4 separate regions of the Homo sapiens genome follow, and all the other regions are linked to region 2. The links are contacts of gene promoters, found by promoter capture Hi-C in human tissues and cell types (Jung and others, 2019). All regions are on one chromosome and are shown on one strand. The core of a region is centred on a gene start or on the middle of the fragment in contact, and the rest is flanking DNA. Distances in the headings are between cores, read along the strand shown. Region 1 overlaps TNRC6B (trinucleotide repeat containing adaptor 6B). Region 2 holds the start of TAB1 (TGF-beta activated kinase 1 (MAP3K7) binding protein 1). Region 3 holds the start of CBX6 (chromobox 6). Region 4 has its middle 3.4 kb from the start of SUN2.

What was found. The method cuts DNA at HindIII sites, captures the fragments that hold promoters and counts their contacts. A contact is called where the count stands out against the background at its distance.
Region 1: a contact is called between a fragment that was not itself captured here and the fragment with the promoter of TAB1 in region 2, in 1 of the 25 tissues and cell types used here (bladder).
Region 3: a contact is called between the fragment with the promoter of CBX6 here and the fragment with the promoter of TAB1 in region 2, in 1 of the 25 tissues and cell types used here (hippocampus).
Region 4: a contact is called between a fragment that was not itself captured here and the fragment with the promoter of TAB1 in region 2, in 1 of the 25 tissues and cell types used here (dorsolateral prefrontal cortex).

Annotation. Positions count from the first base shown.
Region 1 is chr22:40,309,470-40,312,372 of GRCh38, reverse strand. TNRC6B (trinucleotide repeat containing adaptor 6B) reads right to left here. Exons shown (of 23, transcript NM_001162501.2): 17 at 1,380-1,556. Among named protein-coding and RNA genes, the nearest start is that of ADSL, 36 kb to the left of the region's middle. The HindIII fragment of the contact is 7,129 bases long and covers 1-2,903 here.
Region 2 is chr22:39,398,474-39,401,363 of GRCh38, reverse strand. It overlaps TAB1 (TGF-beta activated kinase 1 (MAP3K7) binding protein 1), which reads right to left and starts at 1,584. Exons shown (of 11, transcript NM_006116.3): 1 at 1,529-1,584. The coding sequence starts at 1,561. RefSeq lists a silencer at 1,226-1,365 and an enhancer at 1,526-1,645. The HindIII fragment of the contact is 8,049 bases long and covers 1-2,890 here.
Region 3 is chr22:38,870,954-38,873,924 of GRCh38, reverse strand. It overlaps CBX6 (chromobox 6), which reads left to right and starts at 1,709. Exons shown (of 5, transcript NM_014292.5): 1 at 1,709-1,803; 2 at 1,980-2,023; 3 at 2,168-2,233; 4 at 2,379-2,445. The coding sequence starts at 1,735. RefSeq lists enhancers at 1-566, 403-952, 953-1,503 and silencers at 1,498-1,757, 1,788-1,937, 2,038-2,087. The HindIII fragment of the contact is 23,948 bases long and covers 1-2,971 here.
Region 4 is chr22:38,757,843-38,760,991 of GRCh38, reverse strand. No RefSeq gene overlaps it. Among named protein-coding and RNA genes, the nearest start is that of SUN2, 3.4 kb to the right of the region's middle. RefSeq lists enhancers at 72-121, 1-776. The HindIII fragment of the contact is 9,654 bases long and covers 1-3,149 here.

The DNA.
Region 1 (2,903 bases), core at 65-2,564, 910 kb before region 2:
AAAATTAAGGAAAAAAAAATCACCATGAACATACTCTTGCCAACAGCACCTTTGTTTTATCACACTGTCTGTGGCAGTCAACTGGAAGCCACAGCTCATCAGAGCCTGTCCCCAGTAACCTGATCCTCCTGCTCCCAGGAGACTTCAGGGCTGAAGGCAGGGAAAGCAGGAGTAAGGACTCTGGTGTTCACAAGAATCATCCCAGCATCTAGGCCAAGAACCGGTGAAAATATGGGCTAGAGATCAGTGCTCTTTCTCATTTTCCTTACGAGATGTTGGCCAAAATGCAAAAAATGTAATACAAATGATACTGCTACACAGAATGTCCAGGGATAACCAGCAGGGATAATTTAGCTTAGCAAAAGAAAGCCTAGAATATACATAAGGGCTCGGAATTTTTTTATTGGTCAATTTAAATCATTTTAAAATTTTAAGGCTATGTGACACAATAAACTTTTATTTTCCAAATCGTGATGAGAAAGAGCAATGTGTATTATATATGAACGATCTGCATTATACAGTTCTACTTTGGCCGGGCGTGGTGGCTCACGCCTGTAATCCCGGCACTTTGGGAGGCCGAGGCGGGCAGATCACCTGAGGTCAGGAGTTTGAGAACAGCCTGTCCAACATGGCGAAACCCTGTCTCTACTAAACATACAAAAAATTAGCCAGGCGTGGTAGCAGGCGCCTGTAATCCCAGGTACTTGGGAGGCTGAGGCAGGAGAATCGCTTGAACCTGGGAGGCAGAGCTTGCAGTGAACCAAGATCGCACCACTGCACTCCAGCCTGGGTAATAAGAGCAAAACTCCCTTTCAAAAAAAAAAAAAAATTCTACCTTAATAAAACGAAACTATACATATTCATGTCACAAATACGCATGCACAGAAAGAGGTCTAGGAGGATATATATTTATGGAATTACTGATTTTAATTTTTGCTTTATTAAATGTTCTCATTTTTCTATCATGAGAATAGATTACTATATCCAACAAAAGGGAGGGACAGAAAGAAAAGAATTAACAAATAATCTCATTGCAATCGCTACTGCATACCTAGAAGCTAACTGGTAATACACACTTGCCTAAGAACTAACAAATCAATTCAACAGACACTTCAAAAGAACCCATGTTACAAGGCATCCTATGCATGGGACGAATGCAAAGTCCCACCTACAATGTCACTTATCCCCAGATTCCCCATCTAATGAAAATTTTCTATCTTCCCACAGCACATGCCTTGCTTCTAACAGACAATTATTGAATGAAAAAAATAAAAGCAAGTACCTTAGTAACATGAATCACAAAAGCAATGTATTCTGAACCTGAAACTGACAATTACAAAACAAATGCTATCCTGGGAAAAGCATTTCCTAGACAATACCTGGAGGCCAACTGGCATTGCTGGATTTACTTCCGATTTTATTTGTTGGTGGAGATTTGGCAGGTAACCAGCTATCACCAGCAGGACCCGTATGGCCACCCAGTGTGTCACCAGGGATGATATCAAACTGGTTGTACGGTGACCCTCCCCGGGTTTTACCAGGGGCCACTATAGCGCCTGAGAAAAGAGAGGAAATTAAATCATCCAGAATAACTCCTATGAATAGAACTTGTCTATTTTTTATTCGCTGGAATGCAAACAGTCTTCTGAAGCTGATGGAGTATATACAAACAGCACTGGAATAAGAGGTTGCATTCGAGACTCAGCACAGAATTACTAAGCAGCATGACCAACAACAAGTCATTTCGCCTCTCTGAGCCTCTCAGTTCCTCACTTAGGCACACAGGATTGTTCTCATGCTTGAATGTTCCTTTCAGTTTTAAAATTCCATGGTCTTATGAAATTAATGAAACGTTCACATACTAGGAATCTGACCATTATCCCTAGTTTCTATGCTAACGACTCAAGAGTGAGAAATGGGGAAAATTCTAACCATTTGTAGCACATAAGAAGGTTTTAACTAAATTTCTACTGATGCTATCCACCCAGGTTCTTAAGGGCTGGCTGATCAGGCTTAGATTAGCTGGAAGCAGCAGTGTAAACAGAGAGTCCATTGGAGGGAAAAGCATCTGCAATTGCTTTAAATTCCAACGCAATGAGATGGAATTCCCGCCTAGGGTCTTTGCCAGCACAAGACCAGCAATGAACTCTGCAGCTCTGGGATCCGTGGCCTCACACATGAAGAACAGCAAATCCTTTGTAACTGGTTTCCTGAGAGCACTTCAGTGGTTTTGTCGCTGCCCCCATCATGCATTTTATATGCTATGGGGCAGGAAAATAATTAAAAGCTTAAAATTACCTTGAACTAACAGAACATGCACTTTGAATAAAATTTTAGGTATCAGTGAGATACCAGTCTACTTATTTCTCAAATGAATTTTACATACTATATTGGGTCACTTGATCTATTCTTAGGATGCTGCTTGTGAAGGGATAAAATTATTTCCAGGGTGATGCAGCCTAATGGGAATATTATCAAAACTACCTCCATACTCAGGCTAAGAGGGCATTTACTTTTCTGGAGCCACTGACAAATCTGGCTCAGAGGCACATTATGGTGAAGCAGTGGAAAATGACAAGCTCAATTACTTTGGGGATTGCTAAGGAAATGGGAAAACATGATCTATAAGCTCTAAAAAGGCAAGTAGAGATTTTGCCTTTGAGATATCCTCTCACATGCCATTTCAGATTTATTATCATGCACCTATCATGTCTTTGGGGACAAGGGGACCTGGTGAATCATCAGCCTAAGGAAGCATTGAAAGTGCCCAAAGCTGTAGATATCAGTGGGCTTAGATTATTCAGTCCACAAACAGATTTTACAATTTCAATAAATCATTTTTGACTTCATGCCATGAAACCAAATGATAATGCTTAGGGATGGCAGGCAGAGAGCTCCACGTG
Region 2 (2,890 bases), core at 335-2,834:
GACGTGCCCAGCAGTAATAAAATAAAGGAGTAGTAAAGGTGTGGAGGGGAAGACAGCAATCCCCACTGGGGAGGCCTGGGAACTGTGCTCCTGGGAGAATAATTTCAAGGCTCTGGTTCCAGGTTATCCCTGAGCCAATGTCTACTCACCTCTGTGACGCCAAGGGCGAGCACTGGACCTGGCTACAAACCTTTACTCATCCTTTCACAAATGTATTTATTGAGTGCCCAGCACATGGTGATAGATAATAGAGACACAGCGGTAAACAAGAGATCACAGGTCCCTGTCCTCAAGGAGTTTACTTTCGTTTTTTTTTTTTTTTTTTTTTTGAGACACAGTCTCGCTCTGTCGCTCCAGGCTGGAGTGCAGTGGCCCGATCTTGGCTCGCTGCAAGCTCCGCCTCCTGTGTTCAAGCTAATTCTCCTGCCTCAGCCTCCCGAATAGTTGGGACTACAGGCGCCCCCACCACGCTCGGCTAATTTTTGTATTTTTAGTAAAGACGGGGTTTCACCATGTTGGCCAGGATGGTCTTGATCTCCTGACCTCGTGATCCACCCGCCTCAGCCTCCCATAGTTCTGGGATTACAGGCATGAGCCACCGCGCCCGGCGGAGTTTACTTTCTAGTACAGGAGGCAGACAAGTCCATAGACAATTCTAACAGTGCCATGCATAGGAAGGACCCAGGAGGCCAGCACCCTACCCTGGTAGGTCAGAGTAGTCCATGGTGCCAACATGTGTGTGCATCTATGTGCACATACGCGTCAGAGGACGCAGGGCCTGGAAGACAGCGCCAAACCCATGAGGGTCCAGACCGGGGGTAGGGATGAGTCTGAAGACAATTCTTCCACTCAGCGCTCTCGCCTTAGGAGAAGGAAACTGAGGCTGAGGGAGACACAGTCAGAGCCAGGACCAGAACCCAGTGACAGCTACCACTGGTCATTCCTTTAGTACAGCCCAGGGGTTAAGGGGGTTTCTGGAATCACACTGCCTGATTTTAATCCTGCCTCAATACGTACCATTTGTGTGGCCTTAGGCAAACGACCACCTCAGTGTCTCAGTCTGTCAAATAGGAATAACAGTAGCACCTATCTCAGGGGGCTGCTACGAAAATGAAACTGACAAATGTAAAGCAATTAACACAACGCCGGGGATGCAGTAAGCGGTACACTGTGGATGCTGCTGTTATTATCATTGCACGTCTGCTCGGTGTCGCAGTGGGCTCGAGACTCGGATAGCTCTGCTGCCGCCCGCCGTGTTCCCTTCTGGCTCCAGGACGCTCCCGCCCTCGACGCCCGGCAGCAGCAGCCCACAGCCCCGGCGCCCTTGACCCGGGGGCCGGGCCCGCCGCGCACACACGCCCTGGCCTCGGGAACGAGGGGGCCAGCCCGAGGAGAGGAGAAGGTGGCTGACACACCCCACCACGGAGAGGGTGGCTGTCCAAACTCGGAGAAGGAGCCGTTCCTGCACCCGACAGCACCCCCGCCCAGGCTCCCAACCCCAAGCCCAGAGAGCGGGCCTGTTCCTCACACTCTGCAGCAAGCTCCTCCTCTGCGCCGCCATCTTGGAGGAACCCCTGCGGGAGCGCCCGCCTCCCCGCAGAGCAGCGAGTGGGGCGGCTAGAGCGGCCCGAAGGAGGCGAGGATGACCGCGCTGCCGGGGAGCATGCGCCCAGCGCCACCCCACGCCCGAAGAGGGATGGGGGTCGTAGCGGACCGTGTGCGCAGGCGCGCTCTTGCACGTTTTGTTGTTGTTGTTGTTGTTGTTGTTTTGTTTTGTCTTTTCCTCGGGGCCGATTGCTCCTCGCCCATCTTTATTATTTTTTGAGATAGGGTCTCACTCTGTCACCCAGGCTGGAGTGCAGTGGCGCGATCACAGCTCCCTGCAACCTCTGCCTTCCGGCCTCAAGCGATTCTCCTTCCTCAGCTTCCCGAGTAGCTGGGATTACAGGTGCCCGCCTCTCCTGCCCCAGCCTCCGGAGTAGCCGGGACTACAGGCATGAGCCACCACGCCCGGCTAATTTTTGTATTTTTAGTAGAAACGGGGTTTCGCCATGTTGGCCAGGCTGGTCTTGAACTCCTGAGGGTTCTTTGTGAACACAGTTGGTAAGGGGAGGACAATTCATTCACTCAGCAAATGCTACCTAGGTGACCCTGCTTGGCTCTATAGTGGGTTCTGCAGCGAGCAGGACAGGCCTTCAAAAAGCTAACATTTTATTTTATTTTATTTCATTTCATTTTATTATTATTTTATGTTATGTTATGTTATGTTATTTTTGAGACGGAGGCTTGCTCTGTCGCCCAGGCTGGAATGCAGTGGCGTGATCTGGACTCACTGCAACCTCTGCCTCCCGGGTTGAAGCGATTCTCCTGCCTCAGCCTCCCGAGTAGCTGGGGTTACAGGCGCCCGCCACCACGCCCAGCTAATCTTTTACATTTTTTGTAGAGACGGAGTACCGCTATGTTGGCCAGGCTGGTCTCAAACTCCTGGCCTAAAACGATTCTTCTGCCTGGGCCTCCCAAAGTGCTGGGATTACAAGTGTGAGCCACCCCGCCCAACCTAAAATGTTAACATTTTAATTGGAGAGGACAACATTTATGTATATAAGACATTCTGCCGGGGGCAGGCGCGGTGGCTCATGCCTGTAATCCCAGCACTTTGGGAGGCCGAGGCCGGTGGATCACCTGAGGTCAGGAGTTCGAGATCAGTCCAGCCAACATGGTGAAACCCCATCTCTACTAAAACTACAAAAAATTAGCCAGGCATGGTGGTGCACGCCTGTAATCCCAGCTACTTGGGAGGCTGAAGCAGGAGAATCACGAACCTGGGAGGTGGAGGTTGCAGTGAGTGAGCTGAGATCACTCCACTGCACTCCAACCTGGGCAACAGAGT
Region 3 (2,971 bases), core at 460-2,959, 530 kb after region 2:
CATCTCCCAGGAGGACATTTCTATTTTTACCACAGCAGCTCACCTTGGGCTGGCCAGCAAATAGCTGTTTCCCTGGAACATACTGATTTTAAGTGAGGAGAGGGATTTCTCTCAAGGTAATAATTGGACAAATCTGCTGGGAGAAAAAGACTAACATTTTGCTATGGTGGATTTGAAACCCAAGAATTGGCATTGTAGCACAGAAACGCAAAAATCTTTCCTAATGAGCCATTGATGTTCGCAAGACACAACCCTGACTCTTCACAATCCCCATTCCTCCCCACCCCATCTCAGCCCCAAGGTGGTCACTGGAAGGATGGTGAAATCTGTATTTAATGACACTGAAAGATGTCCACTTTATAGCATTAAGGGAGAAAAGCAGATTCCAGAACAGTGTGAATAGCGTGATCCCATTTTGTTAAAAAATTAAATCTACAGACAATGTGTATGTGTATGTATATACATACATACATAGGTGTACGTGAGTTTATGTACGCATAGAGCAGAGGCTGGAAGATTGGTGAAGATGTTAACAATGGTTTTATGGGGGTTATGGACAGTTGTTTTATCTGTATTTTTAAAATTGTTTTACAAAGAACAAGACTACTAACATAATGGGAAATAAAGTTCAAGTAATTTCAACATTTAAAAAGTGGAGCGTTTTGCGCGGCAGGGCTATTTTTTGTGTGTCCGTTCCTGGACAGCCCCAGCTCGATCCCCCGCCCCTCCTCAAGTGGGAAGCTGGGATCTGGGCTCCCCAGAGCAATGGCGGAAGCTTCGCGCAGCTGCGGGCGGGGAGAGGGACGCGGCCAGGTCGGGGGGCCGGGAGGGGTGCTGGGAATCGGAAAACACAGATATGACCGCGAAGGCGGTTTCTGCCGAATGACCAGATGATGACCCGCTGTGGGCCCAAGGCGGAGTGCGGGGAGCCCGTTCCTGCCCGCGGTCCCTCTCCCTCCCCCACTGCCACACCGGCCCCGCCGAATCCTCCCCGGTCTCCTGGGCGAGGACAGGTGCCGCCCGAGACCCCGGCCGCAGACAGATGCCCACGGTCACTCCGGCCTTCCTCGGCCCCATTCGCCGCACACCCCCTTCCTGCGGTGGCGTTTTTGTTTTAACTCTTCTGAACTGGTTACAAAACCACCCTCCCACGAATACATAAATAATGGGTGGGGGGCGATGTTTTAAAGAAATTCCCGCAAGGCCTGGCAAGGCAACAGCAACTGCATTTCTGCTGCATCATATTTAACTGTTTGCAGGCTGCTGCGGGAGATGCGCGGTGGCGGCGAGACTCGGGCTCCACAGCCCTTCTCCGCCCGGGGCCTGGCGAGACTCGCGTGGGGATTAAGAGGCAAGGAGAGGGTGTCAGCGATCGGGCGCCGGCAAGATGTGAGGGGGGGTGATAAGCGTAAGGCCGCAGCGTGCCCACAAGCCGGGCACCCATCGGGTCGGCCGGCAATTGCTCCCTCCGCCCGCGCGGCCCCTTTAAGAGCCAGCGCGCGCCCCCGCCCCGCGAGCGCCGACTTTCCCTAGCAACCGCCCCGGGGGAGGGGGAGGTCCTGGCAACCGCGCGCCAGCCGCGAGGATCACGTGACGGCCCGCAGCTGGAACGCGAGCGCGCGCCCCGCCGCGCTCCCGCCCGCCGGGGCCTGGGCGCTGCGGCGCGTGCGCGAGCGGTGCCGCACCGGCCGCGGGCGCAGGGAGTATTATGGGCTGTGGGTGCCGCTGAGCAAGATGGAGCTGTCTGCAGTGGGCGAGCGGGTCTTCGCGGCCGAATCCATCATCAAACGGCGGATCCGAAAGGTGAGCCGCCGCCCGGGGCGGGCCGCCGCTGTCCGCAGCCGGGGCCGGGGCCGGGGGCCCTCGGGGCGAAGCGGTCCCGCTAGCCCGGCTCCCTCGCCCAGCCCCGCGCCGCCGCCTCCTCGCGTCCCCGCATCCTCCCCACCCCCACCCCCGTTTTTCTCCCCTCTGTTTTTCAGGGACGCATCGAGTACCTGGTGAAATGGAAGGGGTGGGCGATCAAGTGAGTGTCGCGGGGTCCGGGGGCGTCGCGGGAGGGGAGGCAGCGGGCACCGGGGCCTGGGGTGGGGGTGCGCGCTCTTGCTCTCGCCGCGTGCCTGTCCCTCTCTGGTCTTCATCCTGATTTTGTGCGTTTGTGACTCGGCAGGTACAGCACTTGGGAGCCCGAGGAGAACATCCTGGACTCGCGGCTCATTGCAGCCTTCGAACAAAAGTGAGTTGTTGGGGAAGCTGGCAGGGGCTGCGAGGCCGAGGCTCGGCTGGGGCGCCGCGCGGGGAAGCGGGAGAGCCGGGGAGGGCAGCGCGGAGTGGGGCCCGGGAAGGGGCTCTTTTTAACCTCTGGTGTTTTTCGGCCGCAGGGAGAGGGAGCGTGAGCTGTATGGGCCCAAGAAGAGGGGACCCAAACCCAAAACTTTCCTCCTGAAGGTAACCTGGCCCAGCCCCAGCAGCATCCCCCTCTCGGGCCCCCAGCCCCGGCACAGCACGGGGCCTGGAAGGGAGGGACAGATACGCGGCCGCCCAAGCGGGCCGGCCTTTTCAGAGGGGCCCCAGCTGGGCAGGGGGTGGTTGTGAGCCCCCCCAGAAGCCCCTGATGGCAGGCCTCAGCCAGCATCAGCTTCAACAAGAGGGTTTTGGGACTGGGGATAATCCTCCCTGTTGAAACCAGGGGCTGGGGATGCCTTTAGGGCTCCAGGAAAGGGGGTGGCTGAGGCAGGTGGGGGATGCCCATGGGAAGGGGGCATTTGTTTGAGCTGTTATGACTGTGCTGGGAGTTGGAACCCAGGGGGAGAGTGAGTGGGGTCCCACCTCCTGGCAGGGCACAAGGAGAGGATTTGGGGGACCACCTGCCTCCCTGCCCCCAGCTTCCCCCGTTCAGTCTTTCAGGATTTGTTCTTCATGGCTCCCCTCCTTTCTTGGGGATCCAACTTGAATTTGACCTCAAATCATTTTA
Region 4 (3,149 bases), core at 405-2,904, 640 kb after region 2:
ACTGCTGTGAGAACTGAAGGCCTAGAGGGTCCTCCCACCTCCTCTGCCTCCACAGACACCTGGCAGGGAAGGGAGCAGGACAATTACTCCCCCTGCTCTACAGACAAAAAAGCCAAGACCAGAGCAGGGGTTGGGGGCTGCAGCCCTGCAGGAGGGAGAGGTGGGTAGACCGGGGAGTTTTTACTGGGGTCGGGGGCACTCGGGTTGTGCTATGGCGTTCCAGCTAGCCCAAGGGACAGAGCTGGAGGTTGCAGTGACAGGGCTGGATGGCCAGAGGCGGCTCTGCCAGCTGTCTCCACGCAGGGGGCCTGGTTCATCTGGCAGCTTCCCCACCAGTGAGCTGAGCGCTCTCGCTGCTATCCCCTCTGCCTGGTACTCTTGTCCCCTCTGTCCCCGGCTCCTCCTCTTGCCCTTTCTTTCTCCAGAGGTCTCTTTCTCCAGCAGCTTCTCTGACTCCCCAAGTCTGGTTACGAGAGTCAGGGCCAGACCAACTCTCCACTAGGCACAGCAGGCCCAGGGCCAGGGCCATGAATTTTCAGGGGCCGACATAAATGTTTTAATTATTTGTTTAATCAGAAGGGAAAAAAATGGATATAACCTAGCCGGCTTGTGGATACTGACATAGTTGCAAAACACAATACTTAATACTTTTTCTGGAGGAGGGGGCCCATGAAAGTCACACTGGGTCCCTTTGAGCCCTGTGTCCCTCCTGGGCACGAGTCTGAAGTGTTGTGATGATCGGCTCACATGACTGCCTTCTCCACCAGACAGTGGGCCCCGGGAGGGCAGGGGCATGTCTTACATTGTCAGAACAGGCAAGCGGTAAGTATTTGCTAAATAAATAAATGCTTATAAATAAAAAAAAAATAGCCTTGATTGCTAGTTAGTGACAGTTAGCAATCCTTGCCCAGGGCCAGGCACTGTACTGAGCTCCCATGACACAGACACATTGATATCATCCCCGTTTTACAGATGAGGACATCAAGACAATGAAAGGTTAAACCTGCCCACGTCGTTCACCAGGAGTGTCTGCATTCCAAGCCTGCTCTCTGGACCACTGGCCCAGAATGTCCCCACAGAAGGTGGAGCACCTGGTGGATGTATGAAGAGGCTGAGTCCAGGAGGAACACCCTGGACATGGGGCAAGCAGGCTATGTCAGCCCCTGAGTTCTGGCCCATGGATCGGTGCCCTCGGGAGCTCCAGCGCTGCCCCAGCCTCCCTTGTGAGTGTACAGCCAGCTCAGGCCTTCCTCCATGTGGGCAGCACACACTCAGCCAGCTACTGTGCTCAGGGTGTTGGTGACAATGACGGCTAATTGGAGCTTACACCTACCGAGTGCCAGCTGACTGCAACCTCTGCCTGCCGGGTTCAAGCAATTCTCTTGCCTCAGCCTCCCAAGTAGCTGGGATTATAGGCATATACTACCATGCCCAGCTAATTTTTTTGTATTTTTAGTAGAGACAGGGTTTCACCATATTGGCCAGGCTGGTTTCGAACTCCTGACCTCAGGGGATCTGCCTGCCTTGGCCTCCCAAAGTGCTGGGATTCCAGGCATTCATCACTGCACCCGGCCAAAAGATTAGAATGTCATCAGGCAGAGAAACAAGGAAAGGCGTTCCAGGCTGAGGCACAGCCTGAGTAAGGGCTCAGGAGTAGGAGAGGCCTTGGGGTGAGGCCCCAGGAGTGCAGGTGAGGCCTGCAGGAGATCTGCGTCTGCAACCACACTGGGGAGCTGGTGATTTAAGACTGGGAAGCTGCAGTCAGGCAGTCGCTCGATGAACGTTTATTGAGCATTTATTAGGAGCCAGGTACTGTAATAGGTGTGGGGGACAGAGGTGACTAAGGCACAGTCACCCATAAGAGTCTGGCCAAATCTCTGCATGCCTAAGACTGTCCCCCTCAGTCAGGGACCCACGTTGTGTTCCTGGCACCCTAGCTGACCCACTTTGTAACCTGGATCCCACGCCTGCACTCCTCAGAGTAGCCTTCTTCCATAAAATGAGTTTAACTGCGGTTGTCACCTGGTGATGGAGCTCTTTGAGCTCTTAGGATGAAAGATTCTGTAAATACGCAGCCTTTGTCACCAGACTGGGTGGGGTGGAATAGGGAGCCCACATCAGATCCCCAAGGGTGCAGAGAAACAGCCCCCGGGAGTTGGAGGGAGGGTCGGTCGCCAAGCTCCCCTGAGGTTACCGCCCTCTGACAGCTGCCAAGCGAGTTCCTGCAGCCAGAATGCCTGACATGAAAGTCCCCCGCCCCCGCCAAGGCCTGCCTGTGATGGTTAAATGACAGACGCCGACACCCTGGCTGCTGACTGATGCTGACAGCAGGGAGGGAGATGTGGAGCTGGCCTGGGTTGCAGGCAGGTGACTGGAGGCTCTTCCTTAACTCGTGTTCATAGGACGCTGAACACCCACCACGACCTGTCACTGTCCAGTGTCCATGGGGGAGGCAGACAGGCACACAGCACATTCCACCATCACGTGGGGTGTTAGAGGGGAGGCCCTGCTCTCTGGCAGCACAGAGAAGCCCACCTGACAGATGATGGGTCCAGGACAAACCAAGGGCCCAACCTCCTCCCGTCTCCCCGCAAAGATCATGGTGATAAAACCCCTTTGGGATGAAGTAGTTCAGAAGTCCTTTGCCCATGTGACCCTCATGCAAGAGAAAATGAAGGCCAGAGAGCCCCATTGACTTGTCCAAGGCCACAGAGCTCATTGGTGTGGCACACAGGACACTTATTATTATTCTGATTCCTTGGCTTGTGGCTTCATCACTCCAATCTCTTCCTCCATGGTCACATTGCCCTCTGCTCGTCTTCTCTGCCTCTCTTTGGTTTTTTGTTTGTTTTGAAACAGAGTCTTGCTCTGTCACCCAGGCTGGAGTGTGGTGGCTTGATCTTGGCTCACTGTGGCCTTGACTTCCCAGGCTCAAGCTATCCTCCCACCTCAGCCTCCTGAGTAGCTGGGATTACAGGTACACACCACCATGCCCAGCTAATTATTTTCTTTTTTTGTTTTTCTTTTTTAGAGATGGGTGGTGGGGGGGGGGGGTCTCACTAATTTGGCCAGGCTGGTCTCAAACTCCTGAGCTCAAGCAATCCACCTGCCTCAGCCTCTCAAAGTGCTGGGATTACAGGCGTGTGCCA